6 separate regions of the Homo sapiens genome follow, and all the other regions are linked to region 3. The links are contacts of gene promoters, found by promoter capture Hi-C in blood cells and fetal thymus (Javierre and others, 2016). All regions are on one chromosome and are shown on one strand. The core of a region is centred on a gene start or on the middle of the fragment in contact, and the rest is flanking DNA. Distances in the headings are between cores, read along the strand shown. Region 1 overlaps DAB2 (DAB adaptor protein 2). Region 2 overlaps FYB1 (FYN binding protein 1). Region 3 holds the start of PTGER4 (prostaglandin E receptor 4). Region 4 overlaps FYB1 (FYN binding protein 1). Region 5 overlaps FYB1 (FYN binding protein 1). Region 6 holds the start of RICTOR (RPTOR independent companion of MTOR complex 2).

The links. Contacts are between HindIII fragments. The CHiCAGO score rates a contact against its expected background, and 5 or more counts as called.
Region 1: a contact is called between a fragment that was not itself captured here and the fragment with the promoter of PTGER4 in region 3, in 1 of 17 cell types (M0 macrophages). The highest score is 6.2, in M0 macrophages.
Region 2: a fragment that was not itself captured here is called in contact with the fragment with the promoter of PTGER4 in region 3 in 2 of 17 cell types (non-activated CD4 T cells and fetal thymus); the score reaches 5.8 in non-activated CD4 T cells.
Region 4: a contact is called between a fragment that was not itself captured here and the fragment with the promoter of PTGER4 in region 3, in 1 of 17 cell types (fetal thymus). The highest score is 6.2, in fetal thymus.
Region 5: a fragment that was not itself captured here is called in contact with the fragment with the promoter of PTGER4 in region 3 in 2 of 17 cell types (non-activated CD4 T cells and fetal thymus); the score reaches 7.7 in non-activated CD4 T cells.
Region 6: the fragment with the promoter of RICTOR here is called in contact with the fragment with the promoter of PTGER4 in region 3 in 7 of 17 cell types (fetal thymus, total CD8 T cells, naive CD8 T cells and 4 more); the score reaches 9.9 in fetal thymus.

What each region holds. Positions count from the first base shown.
Region 1 is chr5:39,419,396-39,423,456 of GRCh38, forward strand. The region is part of intron 1 of DAB2 (DAB adaptor protein 2); the gene reads right to left. Among named protein-coding and RNA genes, the nearest start is that of DAB2, 3.6 kb to the right of the region's middle. The HindIII fragment of the contact is 1,660 bases long and covers 1,260-2,919 here.
Region 2 is chr5:39,213,477-39,217,813 of GRCh38, forward strand. All of the region lies in intron 1 of FYB1 (FYN binding protein 1), which reads right to left. Among named protein-coding and RNA genes, the nearest start is that of FYB1, 3.9 kb to the right of the region's middle. The HindIII fragment of the contact is 4,693 bases long and covers 1-4,337 here.
Region 3 is chr5:40,677,484-40,681,430 of GRCh38, forward strand. PTGER4 (prostaglandin E receptor 4) reads left to right here and starts at 2,432. Exons shown (of 3, transcript NM_000958.3): 1 at 2,432-2,995; 2 at 3,468-3,947. The coding sequence starts at 3,511. RefSeq lists a silencer at 2,095-2,314 and an enhancer at 3,450-3,947. The HindIII fragment of the contact is 6,362 bases long and covers 595-3,947 here.
Region 4 is chr5:39,164,069-39,168,005 of GRCh38, forward strand. All of the region lies in intron 2 of FYB1 (FYN binding protein 1), which reads right to left. Among named protein-coding and RNA genes, the nearest start is that of FYB1, 54 kb to the right of the region's middle. The HindIII fragment of the contact is 1,567 bases long and covers 1,590-3,156 here.
Region 5 is chr5:39,183,635-39,188,006 of GRCh38, forward strand. The region is part of intron 2 of FYB1 (FYN binding protein 1); the gene reads right to left. Among named protein-coding and RNA genes, the nearest start is that of FYB1, 34 kb to the right of the region's middle. The HindIII fragment of the contact is 3,670 bases long and covers 1-3,522 here.
Region 6 is chr5:39,071,826-39,075,908 of GRCh38, forward strand. RICTOR (RPTOR independent companion of MTOR complex 2) reads right to left here and starts at 2,574. Exons shown (of 38, transcript NM_152756.5): 1 at 2,504-2,574; 2 at 2,286-2,333. The coding sequence starts at 2,552. RefSeq lists enhancers at 1,407-1,933, 2,460-2,986 and a silencer at 1,872-2,771. The HindIII fragment of the contact is 5,742 bases long and covers 878-4,083 here.

The DNA of each region.
Region 1 (4,061 bases), core at 840-3,339, 1.3 Mb before region 3:
GGCTCTACCACTTAATGATAACACCTTGGGCAAGATACTCATCATATTGGAGCCAATAAATAGAGATATCTTTTCTATTTCAAGTTACTTAAAGTGAAAGTCGAATGGGAGAAAGGAGCAGTGCTTCGTTAGCCATTAAACTTTACAAAAACTAAATGAAGTAGACTCATTTATGGAGAGGACTTCATCTGCACTTCTAGACATGGCATAAAAACAAAATAAAAAGTTTTATAGGTTAGAGAAAACCATCTGGTTCAAGGGTAATGATCTAGTTTACTGGAATCCTTTTTAAAAGAAGTAAGTGGGACAGTCTCCTAATAAATGAAGATTAATTATACTCTTTAAAAACCCCAGCAGAGGGGAAAAGATTTGGAAGTGAGGTGATAATATCAAACCAAAAGTATATTGGATTTCCTAGGATCAAGAAAGTCATACTTGGTATATGGGAAAAATATCCAAATCCCATGCTTTTTAATCTTTCTGCATCCTAAGATTCAGTTAAACTGCACTGTGTTTAAAGGCTTTTGCTTTATTATCTCCATGACTGAAGGAATTCAAATACTTTGTTATGATTTCCACTGAAGAAGTGAATCCTAAAACCACTGAATTATGAAAGTTACTCTTGGATCACGTGGTGGAGAGCTAGTTTAGATACAGCTGGATGGGCCCTACTTCCAGAGTTTGCAGTTCTGACAGGTCCCCAGCTGATGTTGATGCTGCTGGTTTGGGAATCAGCTCTGAGAACTATTGTCTTAGATGAGTTCCCTCAAGCTGTGAAATACACATCAAGCTAAATGTCCAATTTTGAAAGACTGAATTAATTTGTCAAATGCAAACTTGTGTATGGCAGCTCATCTTTCATATAAAGATCAAAGTCTTTTTGGGACTAACATTTTGCATCATATTGCTAGGTAGCAATAGGGTAGTTTTTTACCAAGAGACAACATTAAACCATATTTCCCTCATCCAGATTTCTTCTAGGTTGAAAGGTGCTTCAAATCCAGCATTCTAGGATTGTTACTTCCTATTTACCTGCTCCCTTTACTCTATGGTTACCTGAAAATCTAAGTGACAGCCCTCATACATTGTTTACCTTCAACGTAACACTCACTCAGCCTGCCCCATTCACTTAGAATTTTTACCAGTTGACTTAGTTAAAAATCACTTGCCCCTAGCTAGCTAGTACAAATGTAGTAGGGAAAACTTGCCAGGCTGCTTCTATATTGAGGTAGTAACTTTTAGGTTCCAGAAATTTCATAAGCTTTCATGTTTTGCTATCTAGATGATGCAAGAACTAGGAAGGTTAGAAAATTAAGTATTGGGATTAAAATAAGTTTGGAGGGGGTGATATAAGTAGAGAGGAGATTCTACTTCACTTAGTAACTTCCATTTTTAGACCAGGAAGCAATTTGTTCAGATTCTACTTCCCCTAGAGAGGCAGGCTTCCTTCCAGGGTAGAAGGATGCGGGAAGGGGAGTAACCATGGCAACCTGCCCAGCTATGTGGGCAAGGATAGTATGGGGCCTGCACACACTCGGAAGAATTTTTATTTCTAGCCTAGTCATTCAGTTTAATCCGGGTGGTCCCTCCCTTCCCACTTCCTTCTGTGACAATGCTGACTTCAGGGGGAAGGATTGCTCCTTCTCTGTCAGGAGTCTGAGAGGGTGTGGGGAGGACTTAATTGAGACCAGCGAGGTCAGCCTGACCAAACCAAAGTGCAGGCTTCCAGGACGAAAACAGAGAGTAACTCCCTGTCTGTTCTAGCATGAGCACAAGCAAACGCACTGGCTTTATTAAAATCAAGTGCTTGAATAATTAACCTTTTTCAAGTAGGTGAAGGGTATTCAATTTTCATGAAGAAATTTTCCATTTGCTTTCAGTTTTCACAAAGACACTTAATTCAGTTGTTCAGGGGGGAGTAATAACAAACAAACAAAACCTTCAAAATCAGATGGGAAAAAGTATTCCAAGTATATTAGATTAGCTGTCTTCCCAGCAATCCTGGGGTAGGTACTATTATTCTCCCCAGATAAGCAAGCTGAAGTACAGAGAGGTTATGGAATGTGCCCAAGGCCATGTAACCTGCAACCCTGTAGCTAAGATTTGAACCCAGGAAATGGTACTTCAGAAGGTAGTTCTCAACTACTATCCAATTGTGCCCTGTTGGAGGCAGCCAGTGTTGAATGTTAGCCCTCTGTGTCCGTACCAGTCATCATTTGTTCCCCTAACCAGGAATTTGCTTGTTTTCTGTCTTTAAGTAAAGACTGAGGAGTCTGCTTTCCTTCTGATTTCCACCAGTTAATCCAGTCAGGATATGCTGATATTATGAGTTGGGTCTCCTTTAAAGACACATATCTGGTGTTAAATCTGATTCATCTGGCCGGGTGTGGTGGGCTCATGCCTGTAATTCCAGCACTTTGGGAGGCCGAGGTGGGTGGATCACTTGAGGTCAGGAGTTCGAGACCAGCCTGGCCAACATGGTGAAACCCCGTCTCTACTACTACTACAAAAAAAAAAAAAAAATATTATCCAGGTATGGTGGCGGGTACCTCTAATCCCAACTAATCAGGAGACTGAGGTCACAGAATCTCTTGAACCCAGGAGGCAGAGGCTGCAGTGGGTCAAGTTCATGCCAGTGTACTCCAGCATGGGCAACAGAGGGAGACTCTGTCTCAAACAAAACAAAACAAAACAAAACAAAAATCTGTTTCACCTAAATATGATTTTGGCCAACCTTTGTGCAATTCAGCGGCACAGCTTCAACTTTGGAATTACATAGCAGTGCCAGGGAGAATTTTAAAATACCACATCCTGTTACTCAGGTGTTTCATATTGCCAATCTGGTTCCCATTCTGGTTCTGTCTAAAGGGTAAAAAACCTTATGTGTTTGGTTAGTTACCTAAACCTTCCTGGCCAGTAAGCTTTCGAATCTTTCCAGCTGGGGAGGTATGTTCTGATGAGCATTAGGACAACTTCAAACCCCAGGAGGGCTCACTCTCAGCAGCTTTCCCAAGCATTTCAGCATCTTGGCTTTGTCTTTAAGAAGAGCAATAATTAAATCCTCAGGTCAAAAGAATGAGGAAGAGAAACACGCAGAGCCTTCAAAATTATCCAGATGAAATATCAGTGGTAGCAAACTTAGGTTTATGGACATATGAGGGTAGAGTTAGAAATGAAGCAGCATAAGAGCCTATGTCACAGCAAAGCCTCCTGCTTGGCCAGGAGCACTCAGCAAGGAAGATATCTTCCTGCTCCCTTAACCTTCAGATAATCGAGGCCTGGTTGAGCAGGCCAGTAAATATCATCCCCAAACAGCTGGTCAGCAGCTGCCAGAGGTCCCTGTACTACCTTCATGCCAACAAGTGCCTTAAAAGCCGTACCCTTCAACCCAAACAAGGCCAGTGAAATCCATTCAACCTTTGGAGAAAGACAACAAACAGGCCTAATGCACAGGAATTTGGACTTCCAGTTTAATCTGAAACTATAAAAGTCTTTAGCAGAAACACAAACTCTGGAGTTTGCCCTTCACAAATTAGACAAGGTTTGTAACAAGTGCTTTCTTCCCTCACTTACATCCTCAGGTAAAGATCAACCATCAAGATCAAAGATCCCCAGAATGGCAAATACATACGTGTATGGGCTCAAAGTTGGAAGACATTCCTCTACCATCTACTTATTCTGGTTATACATTAAAGCATAGGAGGGCATAGCTGAAAAATGACTGGTTTCTAGGTCAGTCATTTGGATGAGAAGGGATCCTTCCAGCTGGGAGTGGGAAAAGAAGGGGGAAGTTATTCACCAACAACAGGAAAAAGAATTTAGTTGGCCTTAGGAGGAAACTGACTAAGGATTTGGAAGAAGTGGTCTGTCCCAGAAATCCACATTGGCAAAGACCACTAGGTCTTCTTCATGCTTTCTCTAGAAGACTTTCCCATTGTACTCAAATACTCCCGAATTCTCAAGGCAATAAACTTTCTTACAGTGTCACTGAGGGCCATCTCCCTTCCAAGAGGGGAGACACAGAACCTGGAGTGGGCGGGGCACCTGGCTCAGAGAAAAGT
Region 2 (4,337 bases), core at 850-3,349, 1.5 Mb before region 3:
GTCCTACTTATGGTTGTGATCCTGGCAGATCTGAGATGAGCAAGGAAACAGAGCAAGGCATGGGGTTTATAGGGCTCAAGGCCAAAACATCCTGATTGACTTTGCAACATCGTGGGCAATCTGAAAGGGGAAACAACTAAGAGAAGACAAACAATTCCGTTTGTTTGAAAAAACATTTAGTCTCTGTGTGTGTGTTGGTGTGGGGGTGAGGTGTTTAGGTAGATGACTATATTAGGGCTTTTTTAGCCCAACCCTGGCTCCAAACAGCTGCCCCTTAGAGTTGGTTACATGAACCATCTAACTGGTAGTTTAGGGGCCCAGGACACCATTCTGGTTCATTCATTGTCTGCCTGAGATGGTGATTATCGTTCATTTGGCTGCAGCCTCAAACTTATTACCAGGGGTGGTTGAAGAGGGGCATAAACAGATACTACGGGAGAAAGAAGTTATAATTTGGGAAGTCCCATGGCAAAAATCAGATTGATAACAATGCATTTATATATAACAACTTCGTCTGAATGAAAAAGTGAAAAAAGTGTTAACATCTTTCGTTAGTTCAAAGAACAACAAAAAATGAAACACACCAAAACCCTTTCCTGTGTTATGCTTTTCTACATACTAAATGGTTTTCAAAAGAAAGTACCACAGAGAGAGTCATCTATTATTTCTAGACAGAATTTTCTTTTAGTTAAAAATGTAAACCAAAATGAGATACTACTTCACATCCATTTGAATGGCTATAATTTAAAAAAAGCAGAAAATAACGAGTGTTGGACAGGATTTGGGGAAATTGAATGCTTGTGCACTGCTGGTGGGAACATAAAATGGTACAGCTGCTATAGAAAACAGTATGGTGGTTATTCAAAAAATTAAGCATAGAATGACCAAATGATCCAACAATTCCACTTCTGGTGTATACCCAAAAGAACTGAAAGCAGGGACTTGAGCAGATATGGGTAGATCCCATGTTTATAGTAGCATAATTTACAATACCAAAAGGTGGAAGCAAACCAAGTGTCTGTTGACAGATAGAGGGATAAACAAAATGAGGTTTATAATACAATGGAATGTTATTCAGTCTTAAAAAGGAAGGAAATTCTGACATTCAAGGAGAAACCTTGAAGACATTACGCCAAGTGAAATAAGCCAGTCACGAAACAACAAGTATTGGCTGGGTGCTGTGGCTCATGCCTGTAATCCCAGCATTTTGGGATGCCAAGGCAGGCAGATCACTTGAGGTCAGGAGTTTGGGACCAGCCTGGCCAACATGGTGAAAACCCATCTCTACTAAAAATACAAAAATTAGCCAGGCATGATGGTGCAAGCCTGTAATCCCAGGTTACTTGGGAGGCTGAGGCAGGATAATCACCTGAACCTGGGAGGCGGAGGTTGCAGTGAGCCAAGATCGCACCACTGCACTCCAGTCTGGGCAACAGAGCGAGATTCTGTGTCAAAAAAAAAATATTGTGTGATTTCACTTATATGATGTACCTAGAGTAGTCAAATTCATAAAGGCAGAAAGTAGAATGGTGGTTGCCAGGGGCTGGAGGGAGGAGGGAACAGGCAATTAATGTTTAATGGATATAGAGTTACAGTTGGGAAAGAAGAAAACGTTCCTGAAATCAATAGTGGCAATGTTTGCGCAACAATGCGAATGTATGTAATGCCACATTTTACCCTTAAAAATGGTTAAAATGGCACATTTTATATTATGTATATTTTACCATAATTAAAAATTCAATAAGAATGTTAAAAAAGGTGTTTGAAGAATTATAAATTTAAATTAAATGTAACAGTGGATCAATGTCAAACATCTAATATGAATAAAATAATAAAAAATCCATTTGAGAAATATAAACACAACTCTCACTGACTACTTTTTTTTTGACTGATAGGGTAAATAAAAATATTTTGAGTGGTTTTCATTGCGATGACGATGGGGAAATGATGAGAAGCACATTGTGTGGTAGGATCACCCTGGGGGAAGTTTTTTTAAAGCAGCACTTGCTGTGTGGTCCAACCCACCCTGCTGTGCTCCTCTCAGGGATCTTTGGGGAGACTCACCAGCCCAGCCAGCCAGGGGTGCAAGGGGGAGGGTGTGGCATCCTGTGGTGTATTCAGAAGCAAACATTATTAAAAACCAGTGGAATCCTGGATCTGTCTTATCCTCACATTTTTCTTGATCAATTACTACCAAAAGAGTGGCAGAAATTCAGTGGCAAGGATTGGGGCACCTTTTGGTGGAGGTACCCTGATTTAGCACGAGTGAATGGGATTGGAATGCAGATGTTGGTTGCTTGTCTATAAATTATGCCCATGTATATGCCAAAAAGATACGCCCATGTATCAGAACCTGTGAATGTGACCTTATTTGGAAAAAAGGTCTTTGCAGGTGTAATTAAGGATCATGCAACGGAATCATTCTGGGTTATGTAGGTAGCACTACATCCAATGACAAGTGTCCTTATAAGATAGAGAAGAAGAGACAGCAGAAGAGGAGAGGGCCATTTTACAAGAGAGGTAGAGGTTTTAGTGATGCAACCACAAGCCATGGAATCCCTGGAACCACCAGAAGCTGGAAGAGGCCAGAAACGAATCCTCCCCTAGAGCCTCCAGAGGGAACATGGTTCTACTGACACCTTGAGTTTAGACTTCTGGCCTCCAAAACTGAGGGAGAATAGATTTCTGTTGTTGTAAGCTGCCTAGTTTGTGGTACTTTGTTACAGAAACCACAGGAAAATAATACACGCCCTTACAAAACTCCCAAATTAAACTTTTTTCGTGTGTGTGTATAATACGATTTTTAATATTGCATATATTTATATTAGCATATATTAGAAATCTCTAATATAAAAATAGTGGTATGCATGTTGTTAAAATTCTACCCGCAGCTCCCTCCTTTGTTCACTCTTTTGTTTATTTGTTTTTAAATTTTATTTTAAGTTCTTTCTGGGATACATGTGCGGGATGTGCAGGTTTGTTACACAGGTAAATGCATGCCATGGTGGCTTACTGCACCTCTCAACCCATCACCTAGGTATCAGGCCCCACATGCATTAGCTATTTATCATGATGCTCTCTCTCCCCCTGCCCTGCAACAGGCCCCAGTGTGTGTCGTTCCCCTCCCTGTGTTTGTGCTGGATTTCTATAAATATCCAACAGTCTATGTGGATGAAGTTTAGGAAGAAGGGAAGAAAGACTGTTTCATGATTATTTTTTGCTGCACCACCATTTGTTGCCATATTAGAGGTGACATCCCAGCTGGGATTATCCCTGGCTTGGAAAGACTGAGTTAGGCATTGGTCACAGGCAGCATGTGAATTTGGTGGCATTTCACCTGCACTTAGAAGCAAAGTCATCCACTGCTCTGACCAACTCACAAGGCGCAGGCTGCAGCAACGTGATTAACAAGGTTATGTATTGAATTTATATAGCTAAATGATTTTCCTGGTTTCTTATCTGTTTAGAGAGGCTGATTAGCAGAGGTAGAAAAACAAGACAACCACTGAGCTTTCCAAATTTATCAGAGAAACCCCAGACCAGCTTCTGATGGGGAAATATTCCTTGACTTCCAGAGCTTCCCACTGGATTTTCATTCCTGCCCAAAGACATTCTTGGTTTATTCCTAGTGACCAATAGAGAGCATTCCAACAATCACTTCTTATCAGTCAGCAACTATATAATAAACACCTGGGACATGCTTGGCCCTGGGCTTTGGTAAAAAGAAAGGAGACAAATGGGCCTTAAAGGTAGAACAATTTCAATTAGAAGCCTGTACAAGGTTTAGAACACAACGTTTGAGAAAGGAAAAAATCCTTAAACATTAGCGAACCAAGGTCCTTCATTTTACAAAAAAGAAACTGCGTAAGGGATCTGTCCAGGTTCACACAGTTGGGCTAAAATCTGGGTCTCTCCCTTGCTCATCCTCTGAGCTTTCCACTGCGCTATGCTGTCTGACCTGTGGGGTGCCAGCTTCTGCAGCAGCTTGCTCTTAAAAAACAGTCACAACAAGAACAGAGGGCAACCCCGATTGCCTTCTGGGCCAGGTGCTGTGCTAGGAGCTTTTCAGGGATCACCTCAAAACAGGTCAATGGAGACGTTACTGTTATCCCCATTTGACAGATAAAGAAACTGAGTCATGGAACCATTTAGGAACTCACCCAAGGCCCACAGCTGGTGCGTGGCAGAGACCACCTTCAAGCTCAGGATCTTGATTCTGGAGTCACAGTCTTAACCGCAACCCCTGGAACCACAGCCCAAACCCGCCAGCGAGCCACGGTTCACTCTCTTCACTTTCTTGTTTTTAGAAATGTTCCTGTAGAGCAGCCTCTAGTAAC
Region 3 (3,947 bases), core at 1,182-3,681:
TCAGAGAGTTATTTAATGACAGTTTTAAATAACTGAACTGGGGTCTTCCAGCATAGAGAAGTAGGGATTGTGGCAGAAACTGCGAGGGAGAATTTTTAAAGTGCTTAGAATAAAAATCTTTTCATTGAAAAAAAATGACAAGAATTGCCCACATAATTATGGCAATTTTTCCTTTCCTTTTGCAATGCAAATTCCTGGCAGAGTGTAAGAGAAACTGAGCTCCACTGTCCCAGTTTTTCAAACTAAGAAAATAAAATAATTTGCTACCTAAACTTTCAACTTCTACTTTTGAAAGCTAAATTTAAGTTTTAAGAATCGTACAACAAAAGAGACTACAGATAAACCTCATTACAATTTTTTAGTATTGAGCATTAGGTTATTTATTTTCCTTCTTCCTAAAGCTACTGTAGAAAGAAAATTCAAAGGACTAGTAAGAAAAATAGCTCAATTGATAACAAGTCTGGTTTGTCAATGACATGCTAATACCTGTAACAGTTACTAATTATCTCAGCAGTGTGTCTCAGTTTTTATATTTAATATATTCTTCATCATTCTTAAATTAATAAATAGCAACCAATTGTTTTCTCTTTTACAAGCTTCATATGGAAAGAAAATTGAAAAAAAAAATTTGTATTAGCAGAAAGTGAATATAAGGGACTTCCCAACCTCCCCTCCATATATTTACTGACAAGCAACTGACATGAGTGATAGCAAAGCAATGTGGTTAGTGAGGAATGGCGCAGAGTGTGCAGTTTCCTTTTTTCTAATGTTGATTTGTTTTCTGTGCTGACACAATCCTAGAGGTTACTGTTCAAAGGAAGCATCGACAACAGAAGTGATTAGAGTACTGATTAAAAGAAGATTTTTAAGAAAATGACCAATCACCATCAATCTTAATATTGGCTAACAAATGTGTATTTTTCTTTCTCATATTATTAAGTAAATAGTATAAACAGAATAATTCTTTATTAGTATATCCATATAGTGCCTTTTGCAAGTAAATATGATTCTGGATATTTTATGACCTGTAATTACTTGAAATCGGAAAGCCCTTTTAGTTTCTCTTATTACCCATGTGTTGCTGAGACTAACTGAAGAACCAGTTAGGAGGTTTGTTCGTTCACGAAATAACATTTAAGAAATGGGTACCTGCTTATCACATAAAAGAATCCAGTTATTTACTTACCCTGTGAGGAGACATAATATGTTAGAATGCTTGTACACTGCAGATGGGAAGAGGTTTTTCCAGGAATTTAAATTGTGCAATAAGGCCACACAATCTTACTTAAAAAAAATGGTGAAGGGGTTTTAATTACACCATGAAGTTTTACAATTTTTTAGGTTTTTAGTTCTGGTTTTAGAAAACAGAGTAGAAGGATTACAGAGAAAAACTTCACCATTAGACAAGAAGTCAAAATGATTCTAAGGGCCGCGCAAACAGGCTTTTCCAAGAATTAATCATGAGGTGGTGCTTGGAGAATTCCTTTACTCCAGTGACTTTGAAACCCCCTTCTCACTCTCCACTAGTCTTTCAAAGGATTCATGGTGAATTGGGTCTAACGAGTATAACACGGCCGGCCGAAGGCATGAAGCTCACGCTACCCTTTCAGGGCGGAGAAGTTCCCAGGAGGAAGAATGGAGAAAAAGATCGCAGTTAGGCAGTCCTCCCAACCTCACCAAGGCTCCACCTCTCTCCAAAGCCGCAAGGCTCTGCCACCTGCGCCGGGAGAGGCTGCAATCACTGTCTCCTCCTCTTTCTTTCTCTTTTTTTTTTTTCTTTTTTGCCTGGGGTGCCCGACCAAGCGCAGCCCGCAGTCTGGGCACTGCCAACTGACTCCAACTCCTTTTATGGTGAGAGGATGGATTCTTCGTTATTTCCCCGCCCAATCTGGTACCCACCCACCCACCCACCTACCACGTCCGCTGGGCGCACCCAAGTCTAACCCCGGGGCGCACGCGCTAGCGCAGACACCGTATTTCTTCTCCTTTCTCGGCCAACCCTAGGTAGAATCCTAAAACAACTGCCCTCTCTTCCACGATCTAGATGTTGCGGCCCGCGGACAGGAGGTTCAAGAAATAGTACACTCCGAGCGGCAGGCAGCGAGGCGGAAACGGTCGCCGGTTTCAGTGGTGGCCCCACTGGAAGCCGAGTTCAGGAGCGGCTAAGCGGTCGCCGGGGAAAGCACCGGGGCTTCCCAGGGTCCCCTCCGAGTTCCCACTCCGCACCTCCGAGGGCGTGAAAACCACGGGAGCCGCCCCACCCCGCGCGCCCAGCCCCGCCCCAGCCCAGACACCGCCCCCCGCCAGTCTTCCCTGCGGCGCCCAGGGAGGACGCGCTCCGCCCCCTTCCAATCCGGCCAATGGGCGCCCGGGCAGCGCGCGGTTTGCCTCCGCCTCCGCCAGGGAAACTTGGAGGAGGAGAAAAGTTTGTACAGAGGGTGGAAAGGCGAGAGCGGAGCTCCAAGCCCGGCAGCCCGAGAGGAAGATGAACAGCCCCAGGCCAGAGCCTCTGGCAGAGTGGACCCCGAGCCGCCCCCAGGTAGCCAGGAGCGGCCTCAGCGGCAGCCGCAAACTCCAGTAGCCGCCCGTGCTGCCCGTGGCTGGGGCGGAGGGCAGCCAGAGCTGGGGACCAAGGCTCCGCGCCACCTGCGCGCACAGCCTCACACCTGAACGCTGTCCTCCCGCAGACGAGACCGGCGGGCACTGCAAAGCTGGGACTCGTCTTTGAAGGAAAAAAAATAGCGAGTAAGAAATCCAGCACCATTCTTCACTGACCCATCCCGCTGCACCTCTTGTTTCCCAAGTTTTTGAAAGCTGGCAACTCTGACCTCGGTGTCCAAAAATCGACAGCCACTGAGACCGGCTTTGAGAAGCCGAAGATTTGGCAGTTTCCAGACTGAGCAGGACAAGGTGAAAGCAGGTTGGAGGCGGGTCCAGGACATCTGAGGGCTGACCCTGGGGGCTCGTGAGGCTGCCACCGCTGCTGCCGCTACAGGTGAGATGGCGTTGGGCTGACGTTGGGGTCAACGGGTAGAGAACGCAGGGATGCGGCCCTCGCCGAAGAGAGCCAAGAAGGGAAGAGCGCGCTCTCCAAATTGCTTTTGTAACTTGTTTTCAGTGAGCATTTTATTGATTCAGAATCTATCGAGAATAGCACTAGCGAGCTACTTTTCCCTTGAGATGGGTCTTATTCATCTTGGCAATGGAGTGAGTTGGATTGTGGGGAGGAAGAGGAATGGGAAAATCAGTTTATAAATATTAATGTCAGCAAGAGTGTGCTGTTGGCAGGACGTATCGCGAGCCTGGAGATTTTGGTGGCCGCAGTTGGTAAGTGGCTACAATCCAGAAAGTAGGATCGAGTTGCTCCCCTTGTCTTATCAGTGTATCGTTTCTCGGGCGCGGGTCTAACACCTTACAAGTGGTAATTTCCGCTCACGGCAGCTTTGTCTCTCTTCTACCATCCCCAGACCCAGCCTTGCACTCCAAGGCTGCGCACCGCCAGCCACTATCATGTCCACTCCCGGGGTCAATTCGTCCGCCTCCTTGAGCCCCGACCGGCTGAACAGCCCAGTGACCATCCCGGCGGTGATGTTCATCTTCGGGGTGGTGGGCAACCTGGTGGCCATCGTGGTGCTGTGCAAGTCGCGCAAGGAGCAGAAGGAGACGACCTTCTACACGCTGGTATGTGGGCTGGCTGTCACCGACCTGTTGGGCACTTTGTTGGTGAGCCCGGTGACCATCGCCACGTACATGAAGGGCCAATGGCCCGGGGGCCAGCCGCTGTGCGAGTACAGCACCTTCATTCTGCTCTTCTTCAGCCTGTCCGGCCTCAGCATCATCTGCGCCATGAGTGTCGAGCGCTACCTGGCCATCAACCATGCCTATTTCTACAGCCACTACGTGGACAAGCGATTGGCGGGCCTCACGCTCTTTGCAGTCTATGCGTC
Region 4 (3,937 bases), core at 1,123-3,622, 1.5 Mb before region 3:
GAGAAGGAATAAACCTTGATGTGCAGAGGCAATAGCACATCCTCAGGGAGAGAGAGGGGCAAACAGAGGAGAAATAAAGCATGTGCTCCAAATTCAGCTGTCTGTGGGTGCCAGGCAGGAGCATGCCTGTGTGCACTGAGCTGGGAGCACGTGACCATGGTGAACAGGAAACTAATGCCCTGTCTCAGTGGGTGGCCACTGTGGGGCTCCAGCCCACTGTAAATATGTGAAGAAAAAGACTAGATTTTTCTATAAAATCCTCTACTTTTTGAATGTTGGCAACTATTAAAACAAAAGAAATCAATCAAACAAAAAACTCTGCACACCCAACACAGCACATTTTTGGGCTACGTTCTTTTTTTGTTGTTGTTGTTGAGATGGAGTTTTGCCCTGTTGCCCAGGTTGGAGTGCAGTGATGTGATCTCAGCTGACTGCAACATCCACTTCCCAGGTTCAAGCGATTCTTCTGCCTCAGCCTCCTGAGTAGCTGGGATTATAGGTAACCACCACCACACCTGGCTAATTGTGTATTTTTAGTAGAGACAGGATTTCACCAGGCTGGTCTCGAACTCCTGACCTCACGTGAACTACCTGCTTCAGTCTCCCAAAGTGCTGGGATTACAGGTGTGAGCCACCATGACTGGCCTGTGCTACATTAATTTATGACATACACCCTTTTTAAGTAAAGAAAGAGAAAGCCTCGCAAAGAAATTTTAATAAAGGAAATTGCCTGACCAGTGTGGTTCATCCAGGAAGCAAGCTTTTCCTTGCTAAAACTATGAAGTTTTGAAAGGGACAAATTAGACCATTAGACCAGGCAAAGAATTGTAATGCACTGGAGAAAGAACTAGAATTGCCAACAAAGAAGGCAGAGCTTCCCTGTAGTGCCTGGACAGAGCAAGTGTTCTTAGCGTGACTCAAAGGGAGATAAAGTGACTATGACTCAGTAAACCTGTAAGAAGCACAACTACATATACAGACATGTGACAAGAGAAGGTACTCAGTTAAGTTAAATATTTGCTACTTTTGCTATGGCAATGACTATTGTTGCCATTGCTTACAAAAAATAATCATAAAATTCATATGGAAGCAAAAAGAGCCCTGAGTAGACAAAGCAATCCTAAACAAAAAGAACAAAGCTGGAGCCATCACATTACCTGTCTTCAAATTATACGACAAGGCTATAGCAACCAAAACGGCATGGCACTGGTATAAAAATAGACACATAGGTCAATGGAATGGAATAGAGAGCCCAGAAAGAAAGCCACATACCCACAGCCAACTGATCTTTGACAAAGTCGACAAAAATGTACACTGGGGAAATGATACTCTATTCAATAAATGGTGCTGGGAAAATTTGACTGCCATATGCATAAGAATGAAACTGGGCTCCTATCTCTCACCATACACAAGAAATTAATGCAAGATGGAGTAAAGATTTAAATGTAAGATCTGAAGCTATAAAAATACTAAAAGAAAACCTAGGAAAAACTTATGGTCATTAGCCTAGGCAAAAATTCATGGCTAAGACTTCAAAAGCAAATACAACAAAACCAAAAATAGACAAATGGGATTTAACTAAACTAGAAAGCTTCTGTCAGTAAAAGAAATAATCAACTGAATAAGCAGACAATCTGCAGATTGGGAGAAAACATTTGCAAGCTATGCATCCAACAAAGGACTCATATCCAGAATCTACAATCAACTCACAACCCCCAAAATAATTTCATTAAAAAGTGGGCAAAGGACATTGAACAGATATTTTTCAAAAGAAGACACACATGTGGCCAACAAGAATATGAAAAAGTGCTCCACATCACTAATCACCAGAGAATTGCAAATTAAAACCGCAATGAGATATCATCGTACAGCAGTCAGGATGGCTATTATTAAAAAATAAAATAATAAGAGATGTGGGCAAGGATGTCGAGTAAAGGGAATGCTTATACACCGTTGGTGGGAATGTATATAAATTAGTACAGCTTCTAGAGAAAACAGTATGGAAATTTCTCAAACAACTAAAAATGGAATTACTGTAAGATTCAGCAATCCTACTACTGGATATTCAACCAAAAGAAAAGAAATCGGCCAGGAGCAGTGGCTCATGCCTCTAATCCCAGCACTTTGGGAGGCTGAGGCAAGCAGATCACCTGAGGTCAGGAGTTCAAGACCAGCCTGACCAACATGGTGAAACCCCTTCTGTCCTAAAAATACAAAATTATCCGGGCCTGGTGGCAGGTGCCTGTAATCTCAGCTACTCGGGAGGCTGAGGCAGGAGAATAGCTTGAACCCAGGAGGTGGAGGTTGTGGTGAGCCAAGATTGTGCCGTTGTACTCCAGTCTGGGCAACAAGGTGAAACTCCGTCTCATAAAAAAAAAAAAAAAGAAATAAAGATATCATTTTACCAAAAAGACACCTGCACTTGTATGTTTATCACAGTACTATTCACAATAGCAAAGTCATAGAATCAACCTAAGTGTCCATCAATGGATGAAACTTATAAAATGGATGACACTGATAAAGAAAATGTGGTATACGTGGAATACTACTCAGCCATAAAAAAATAAAATTATGTCTTCTGCAGTAACATGGATGGAGGTAGAGGACATTATCTTAAATGAAATAATTGAGAAACAGAAAGTCAAAAAGCACCTGTTCTCACTTGTAAGTGGGAGTTAAATTAAATATAGACGCGGACATAGAGTGTGAAATAATAGACCCTGGAGACTGGGAAGGGTGGGAGGGTTGGCAAGAGTGAGGGATTGGAAATTAATTAATGGGTACAATGTACACTATTCTGGTGATGGTTATAATAAAAGCCCAGACTTCATTACTACACACGGTATCCATGAAAAAAAACCCCTGCACTTTATCCCTTAAATTTATATAAATAAAAAAAGAAAGGAGGGACCCTGAGTCAAAATATAGCACATAAACATAAGATGATAAATCAGGTTTTAGAGGAGAGAAAGATATATAAAGTTGGTGCAAAGGTAATTGCGGTTTTTGCCATTACTTTTGGTAAAAGCTGCAATTAACTTTGCACCAACCTAAAAGAAGAAAAGACACAGAAGGAAAAAAATATAAAAGCCACAAAGAAGTAGTGGGGCACAGTGGAGAGAGCGAGCGTTTTGAAATGAGATGATGCGGGGATCAAGCTTCTACTAGAGGTGTGATCTTGGGTAGTTCTCTCTCTCTCTCTGTCTCTCTCTCTCTCTCCCTTGTTTTTGTTTTTGTTTTAAGTTATTTTTTATTACACAAATAATACATGACTCATTTCTGGAAGAAGCTTTACAACACAGATAAAGTAGAGTTTCAGATGACCTCTCACTCCTCCTTGCCCTCTCTTTCCCAGAAACTACCATTGTTTATCTTTGCAGAACTTTTTCTAAGTGTTTACTGACCTTTGTATGTATGCACAGGAATATCTGATTAAAAACCTAAATTGCTCTGCATGCTGAATATTGTGCTGCCTATTCTGGGCCTATCTTGTTCTTTGTAAATGTTCCAGAGTATTCTGTGTTAGGGATAGTCCAGGTTTGTTCAGTCTTCCCCCTTGACTAAAAACAATGTAATGTTAAGCATCTACTTGTGCTTTTCTGTGTAACTGCAGGGCAGTGGTGGGGGGAAGTGTTCTAGGACAGAGATCTAAAAGTAGAATTGCTGAGATGAAAGATTTGCATATTTTATTTTCCTGTAGGATCTGCCAATTGTCCTCCAGTGAGGCTTCAGCAATGTGCCTCAATGAAGTCTTGTCTCCTCATACCCTCTCCGTCACTGGACGTTTGTAATCACTTTTTAATTTCATTAGCACAATCACTTAATCCTCCAGGGCATCAGCTTACTCTGTAAAAAGGCAAAAATTCTACTCCACAATAAAGTTATGACAATTATATTATTTAACAACAGTGCCCATCACAAACTCACAAAAGACACT
Region 5 (4,372 bases), core at 438-2,937, 1.5 Mb before region 3:
TACTCTCTATGTGTCCCTAAAAAAATGAGTTTCTATAACAACTCAAAACAAGCTATTCTTGACTTTGTAAAAATCAAAAAGGCATTTGCCACTTAAAGATGGACTGATTTGGGTTAAAATGTTTCTATTGTCAGTATACATAAGAATCTCCTGGGCAAGTTATTAAAAATGGAGATACGTAGGCCTCAAAGCAAGATGTTCTGATTCAGGAAGGGGGCTATGGTGGTGGTGGAATAAGGGCAGGAATCTTCATTTTTAAAAAGCATCTAAGCTCATTCTGGTATAGATGATCCACAGGCCACATTGGGAGAAACACTGCCTTGAGGAATGATGGGTAAAAAGGAAATTTTATAATAGGTATCAGGTGAAATAATTTGAGATGATAAAAATTTATATGATCTACTGGCAAACCCAGTATTATATTACTATTTAGTAATTTAGAAGAAAAGGCAATTTTTGGTTTTCAGAAAGAAAGTAAATAATTAAAAATTAATTTTCTAGGGTAATTTTGTGATCTTATAAGAAAATGTGATTATATTATTCCCAAAAACTATCTAAAGCAGATTGTTGTCAAAGTTTTGAGGTAAATTATAATTCAACCAACTGATCAATGAAATCTGAAATATTTTGAAGTTCTGTTATTGAAATAGAAGAACAATATCTTAAGACAATAAAGAATTCAATTATTTAACAAAAAATAAGTTTTCTTCTATGAGGAGGTAGGTACACTTATCTTAATAAAATCAATAATGTTGTTTGACTTTATATGATTTCAAATTACTACAATGTGCAATTTTGAAAACAAAAGTTAAACGGGCTATTTTGGTGAGTTTGAACATGAAAATCCTAAACCACTGGGTAATACTCACAGACTACAAAAAGGTTAACTTTCTTGCCTTTTCAAGAAAATTTGCCAAGAATTCTCACATTGAATGGCTAGTTCATTTGAAGGAACAATTAATTTCATATTTGCAGAATATGCTATTGAATATGTTACTGCTATTGAAAACTGGACTTTAATATTCTTTGTTGAATCAAGATGCTGAAGTAACTTCCATCAGTTTGTTAGTGTTACTTAAAAAAAATCTCTTCAATAAATGTATACATTTCTTGATGATCCATCCTTTGCCCCCAAGTTCATTTTAATGTTGTAATAGAGATCACTTGTTGGATACAGGTTTTAAAACTAGTATGCTCTCAAAAGCAAGAGATGATGCACAACCTGTTCTAACTTAGTTATACAATTTTACAGAAATTATATGTATTTTATAATAAAATATTAATTCATTAATTATATGCCATGGACATCCTTCAGCATCAATATACATTCATTCTTTTCCCTAGATACAAAGTACTGTAAGTGAAAACAATTTTGACCCAGCTTTAGTTAACTTTAATTTTAGCTTATATGTTATTAGCGTTTATACTTTAATTTTGGAATCTAAGTTAAAATTCTCTTCAGATTTTCTAAGTCCTATGGATAGGGAAGAGTACTCATTAGATCAAGTAAACACTGCTTTCTCCTTGACCTATTTCAAGAATTGAGAAGCCCAGATAAATAATTAACTTCTTTAGGATGGTTGTCTTATTCTTACCATGTGCACACTCTTCATTGTTATCATAAATACACTGTCAATACCTGAGGATGATTGAATTTTTCACTCTTCTTTGCATTGTATAAACCTAAGCCTTAGGTGATTCTTTTAAGATAACCCATTATTTTTCTGATATTGATGCTTTGTAGCAGTTAAATGTCTTACCAATGTTTTCCCCCTTAGATATGTGATTAAAAGTTCCCAGTCAAGATGGTAGGCTGAGCTTCATGTGGCAGCAAGCTCTGCTCACCCTAAATCTCTAGAAAGGATAGAAAAGATAACTGACTAAAAAAAAAATATATATATATATATGATATATATGATATGATTGTGTGTGTGTATATATATACATATATACATATATATACATATATATACACATATATATATATACACACATATATATATATATACACACACACACATAATCACACTGGAAGTAAGAAAAAAAAGCAAACCCACAGTGTGTTAGAAACCATGAGGAATCCCTAAAAGATTTGAAGAGAGATCAGATCAACGAGGTAATAAAAGCCCAAAGAGAGCATGAGAGAGAGCTATAAAAGTTGGAGCCACTCCGTGAGGGTTCCGCACTCAGAGATGGAGAATATTGGGAGCAGGTAGGGGCCCATGGGTGACTACTTGAGGGTATGAAGCAGGGACAGCCGGGCACTTTTGACTTCTACACAACAGAAATACTGAGAACTACGAGTGAGCCCTTGAGTGGGCGAAGCTGAGCAGAGTCCCGCTGGCTGCCTTGTCCAGGAGGAAAGAGGAGCACCTGGATTGAAGACTGGCTGTCAAAGTGCCCCATGTCCGGGCACACTAACCCCACCCCTCTCTTCCCTCAAGCGGGCTGCACAAACAGAAACGGTGGACAATTGAATTCAAGCTCCACTAAAACATGAACACAAAATCAAGAATTTTCAAACATTGAAAAGGCAACACACACACTTTGGGAGGCGAAGGCGGGAGGATCACCAGGTCAAGAGATCGAGACCATCTTGGCCAACATGGTGAAACCCCGTCTCTACTAAAAATACAAAAATTAGCTGGGCGTGGTGGCACATGCCTGTAATCCCAGCTACTCAGGAGGCTGAGGCAGGAGAATCACTTGAACCTGGGAAGCAGAGGTTGCAGTGAGCCAATATAGTGCCGCTGCACTCCAGCCTGGCGACAGAGTGAGACTCCATCTCAAAAACAAAACAAAACAAAAAAGGCAACACTGAGAGAACAGCACTCTGAAGTCAACAAAGAGTAGAACTTATACCTAAGGAAACAGAGTAATACAGCAAGAGAGGCACAGGAAGAGACTGCATCTACAAGAGGATCAAGTTGATGTGATAATGAAAATCTTTATGTTATGTTTAAGCAAAACAAAATGTGATTTAACACCTGCAACAATTGGATGCTTTTTTTTTTTTTTTTTTTTTTTTTTACTATTATTGATCCCTGAGGCAGCAGCTGATAGCTATCATCTATTATTCATCTATTTCCATTGGGTCTTTATTTGAGTTTTTTCTCCTTTTATCCTTTAAAAATATTAATTAAATTGCTGCCAATTATTGTCTTTCTTTATGATGTACTAGGAACTGTGCTACGTGTTTTTACTACATTTCCTTTTAATCCTAACAATAATTCTATGACATAGTAGACTTATTATCCCCATTAGCAGATGAGAAAACTGAGGCTAAAAGAGGCCGAGAACCCTCCTTGGGGTCCTACAGTAATTGGTACAGCTGGTACTGGAACCCAAGTCTTTCTAATAACAAAGCAACTGCTCTTAACTCATGATAAAAAAAATGATTGTGAAAACTCCTACATTCTTCAAAACAAAAAAGTGGTCCTGTCTTCATAATACACCTCACTTCTCACAGATCGTTAAGTGCTCATTGCGCTTTTTGCAGGTTCTCCTATCAACTTCAAAGCAAGCTTAAAAAAAGCTTTCAGCTTACAAAAATACTGTGACACGCTTGAAAAAAATGTTTTTATCAGTGCCACATTCATCCTCTTCTTTTATCATTAGGCTCACAAACACAGGAGTCTGTCTACAGCATGAAAACTTGAGAGTGTTTTTCTTCAACTTGCTTATCTTTGAAGATCCAACGATAAAGCATTATAAAAGAAAGGCACCTTGATTTTAGGACAACTGCCTAGCTTGCTTTTGCATTGGTCTAATTTCTTGTAAGTACCGTATAAGCCTATTTTGAAGACTAGGTACTTAACATACTAAAACATCACTGAAGAACAAGATGAACATTGTTACTAAATGATGAGACATCTAGATAGTGGGGTAACTAGGCCAGTACAGTTGCACTTGGGCAATAATCAGTTTGGGAGCATAAAAAGATGCAGTGTTTTTAGCTCCTCTCATCTCTGAGACTTCCTGGTCAGTTTGGGCAGGTGGGAAGGGGTATCACCAAGCATGGAGAGCTCCTAAAGGAACAAGTGTGGTCATCTTGGGCAGGACTGTGGGCTCCATCGCCATTATGGCCTTTATCAACATAGAGGCAGCTCTTAGACTGACACCCAGTTATTCAGATTTTCAAAGTCTATTTGTTGTAGTGCTTCCATTTTTTTTCTTTGCCTTGCATACCACCAGTAGTGCTAAGTTTTTTTTTTTATATTTAATGAATAGTAATTATATGTGCCACCTGAAAGCACTGTGTGGAACAAACCTCAAGCCAATGCAGGGCAGAAGGGGGAACAAAGACATGAAAATGAAAGGGAATAGAAAACAGGAAAAAGAAAGAAAGGAAAGAGGGAGAGGGTGGCAAGAG
Region 6 (4,083 bases), core at 1,324-3,823, 1.6 Mb before region 3:
AAACACTGCCTTGGCATTAAACAAAAAAATTTTTGGTTGCCCAAACTTTATCTTTTTACATACTGTAATCTAATCCACAAACAGCTGCCCTTCAGCTGCAACCCAAACTGCCTCACAGTTCTCAAATTATTACTAAACTTTAATTCCTCATGAATTTTCTTCAAGCCTTCTTTGAACAATGAAATGTCTGTCACAACAGCAACTTTTTAAAACAATAGTATCACTATAAAATGACTGATTCAGATTAATTCCAAACTTCCTTATGATTTAGAAATACAGATCTCAAACAATCCCTCACTCTTTATTTTTGCAATCAGTTTTAAATGGCTGTGTATACTTTATTCCAAACTGAAGTACATTTTGTCAGGGCAAGCCGAAAACAGCATTTTCTGCACTATCTATATTAACCTGGAAATACCTATGGACATAGGTGCTTACTAAATTCTCAGTTAATATGGCATTTTAAATAGTAAACAGTTACCTGTGTGCCTCAGTAAAACTGGAGTAAGCCAAAATTATCAAATCAGATGTGTACCTAAGCTCTTCCACAACTCAACATTTTTGACACCAAGCAGAGAAACCACTATATATAGGAGCTCGACGAACTCAATTTAAAATACAACTATATATTTCCAGCACCACATCTGAGCAGGTTTTTAATGCACAAGTTAAACTCAAGTTTATTAAGGGCTCCCTTCACCTTCATCTAAAACACATATGCCTGTATATAAATTAAATCACTCACTAATTACATCTTTTACAGACCTGAAATTGTAGAAGTTATCCTTGTTAGGAAGTTTTCTAGTGAATCTATTTTATATAGATTTTTCACATGTGTGTTATAGTCAAGTTTCCAAACAGTTGCACAGAAGTCAAAAGCTTTACATCTTTCTATACTAATTCTCAAAACCGATCTGCTGAAAAAAATGGTGGAAATTAGTGCATTGATAATCTAATTAGTAGCCATTTTCAGGATTTAAGCTCTACTATATTGTATTATATTTTAGAAACTGTCTTGTAAAAGGACCTAGTTCACCCAAAACTAAGTCCCTGAACTTTCAGAATAAAATATTAAGTTATAAAAATGTACTCTTGTAGCTAAGTGAAAGCTGACCATTCAGTTTATAAAACAGTAATCTTACATCGTGATAAGCAAAATAAAACAAATTAGAAAATGCACTATGCTTTCACTCTAGCCGTTGTCAACAAGGAGCCCAGCTTTAACAAATTACTGTAGATAACAGTCATTACGTCAGGTACGACATAGGGTAAAAAACTGATCTCATACAGAATGTCTACAACAAGTTTTTTTGTTTACTTCCTAAGGTGTTTTATAGACCTCAGAAACTGATTCTGTACAGCTGAACCGGGTTACACTCCAAGCTACAGCCCGTGTGAAATATGACTTCGTCGGAATCAGTAGGCTCAATCCTGTTTACCGTGGAAGAGAAAAGAATCTTGTACGTAACTACTAAATCTTCAACGAGATAATGTCGAATAAACTCTAGTACTGTAAGTGATAGAGGAAACACTGGCTAGTAACGGGATTAGGTCATTAAAAATATCACCCGAGTTTCCCCAGTTCGGAAGGTGTAAACAAACCCATCTCCACTGCAGAAGGTAAACAATGAACCTGCAGCAGGGTGAGGGGGCGGTCTTTAGCCAACTACAGTCCCAGCGGCCCGGGAAAGGGAAGCAGAAGGGAAACAGCATAAACCAGACATTTAGCAGTAATGACCAGTTCTAGGTTTCACTACCAAGTTATCAATGCTGCGGGTCCCCACAGGACGGTGGGCAAAGGGGAAAGCAGTCACGCAGTCGGCAAGCACCGAGCAGGTCCGGCTTCTGCTCCGGGGACGGGGAGGGCAGGATGTGGTCGCTCTTCCCTCAAACATCCTCCTGCAACCTAAATAACAGCCTCTACCTCCCTCCAGCTGCCCCTAGCTTGGGCTGCCGGACTCCGGGATAGGTGCAAACCACTCTGCCGGAGCTCGAGCCCAGAGGGTCGCCGGGTCTGCCGAGTTCCACTCGGGGCTCCCCCGCACCCGCAGCAGCCCGAGGCCCGGAGAAGGGCTCGGGCGAGGGAAGCGGGCGCTGGGTAGGGGGATGGGTCCGGCGAGGCGGCCCCGGGCTCGGTTCCCGCGGGCCGGCAGGCGGGGCTCCGGCTCTGGCCCCCGCACCCCGCCGGTCCCGTGCGGGGCCCGCCCCTGCCTCTGGCCCCCAGCCCCGGACCCGGCTCCTCCCCAGCAGCGCGCCCTCGCGGCGCCCGCGGCGCCCCGCGTTACCTCGGGTCAGATCCAGCGGGACGTTCTCCTCGCCGCTGTCATTCCGCCCTGCGCGAAACAGACACACAGCCCCAATTAGGATTGGCTCGCAGGCCAGCTGCGGCTGCCCTGGCTCCGGCCAGCGCCCCGGCTCGCTCCCCAACCCAGGGCCAGGGGAAGGCAAGTGCCAGGGGTGGCGGGCGCCGGGCGGTGGGGAGTGAGGGTTGCAGCGGGCTTACCTCGTACTCGGAGGTTCTTCAGAGAGCGGCCGCGGCCGATCGCCGCCATATTGACGGGTTTCAGTCACAACACCGGAAACCTCGCCCAATCGCGCGAGAACCCCTTCCCCTCCCCGCGCGCCGCGCCCGCCCCCCGCGGCACCTCCCCCGCCCCCTCGGCGGCGACGGCGGCGGGTGGTGCAGGCTCGGCCCCAGCGCTGAGGGAGCACTGAGCCGACCCAAGGTCTGCAAGGAGTTCGCGGCACCCGCCCGCCCACGCCGGACCCGGAGGGCACGTCCGCCGGGAGGGGCAGTTCCCACGAGGAAAGTCCCATTGATGCGAGTTGGCAGTGTAGAGGATGCTCCCCTCCGGCCGCCGCGGAAGCCGTCGTCCAAATGCAGGCGAGCGGGGAGGAGGAGGCCGGGATGCGGCCGGCGGGCCACCTGCTCTCGCCGGCCTGCCAGTCTCCTGCTTGCTCTGAAGCCCTGCCATAGACGGCCCCGCTCCCCCGTGTATCCACTGAAACATTTTTTTATAAAAACGCTGCGCACAGTTTTAGACTCCTTTCCTGGAATCGCTTTGCTCCAACTAAGTTAACACGTAACAAAGTTTGTTTTCCAGCCTCGCCCTTGATCTTCAGAATGCCCCTCTCGGCTAGGAGGGCTTCTCCAAGTGGAAGTGGTTAGGCAGTTTTGTTTTTGGCCGCCAGGCGTAGGACGCGAGAAGGGGGTGCAGCGGCCGGGGACCAGGGCGGCGGTCCCCGCGGTGGGATCGCGCCAGCGCCGGGAGGCCGGGGAGAGGGTGTTCTCTGCCGGGAGCCGAGGCGAGGCTGCTGGGTACTGTGTCCGGCTTTTATGGCTCTGCAGCTCCTAGGATCGTGGCTCATGCAGGTGTTGTGGATTAATCTATTTTATGCATAAGCCTATTAACATTAGGGATTTTAATTCTAGAAACTGCTTAGTTAATACGTATGTGTACACACACACACACACACACACACACACACACACACACACACACACACACACACACACACACACACACCTGGCCACTGACCCAGCAGCTTTCTCTTGAACTACATTTACTTTAAAGAGAGGAGCGATTTGTCCTCTCCAGTTCCTCAGCTCATCTTTCTATTCCATGAGACTGAAAGTTAATTAAAAGTGGAGATCTAGCCTTAACCAGTTCTGTTTTCCCAGCTCCCAGTTAATGCAATATCTGGCACAAATAAGTATTCAATAAATATCTGTTGGATGAGTAAGTGCCCTGGATTTCTAATTTATTCCAATTCTCTGCTTACTTTAAAAAAGAAAAAAAAAGCAATATTGGGGATATTTGTTGAAGTTGTTAATAAGAGTGAACATTTGGAAACACTTAAATGACCAAAGGTAGGGATTATGTAAATTATGTCAACGATTAAAAGTGAAGAGGTAGACTTAGTAATAGGAAATAATGTTCATGATATTAAATCAAGCAAAATATTACAAATTTCCTGTTTTATAATAAAAGTTTAAATATGTACGAAATTAAAAATATACATTATAAAATATTTTATATGTACATGTATGTTGAAAAAAGTCTGAAAATATACATGAAAATG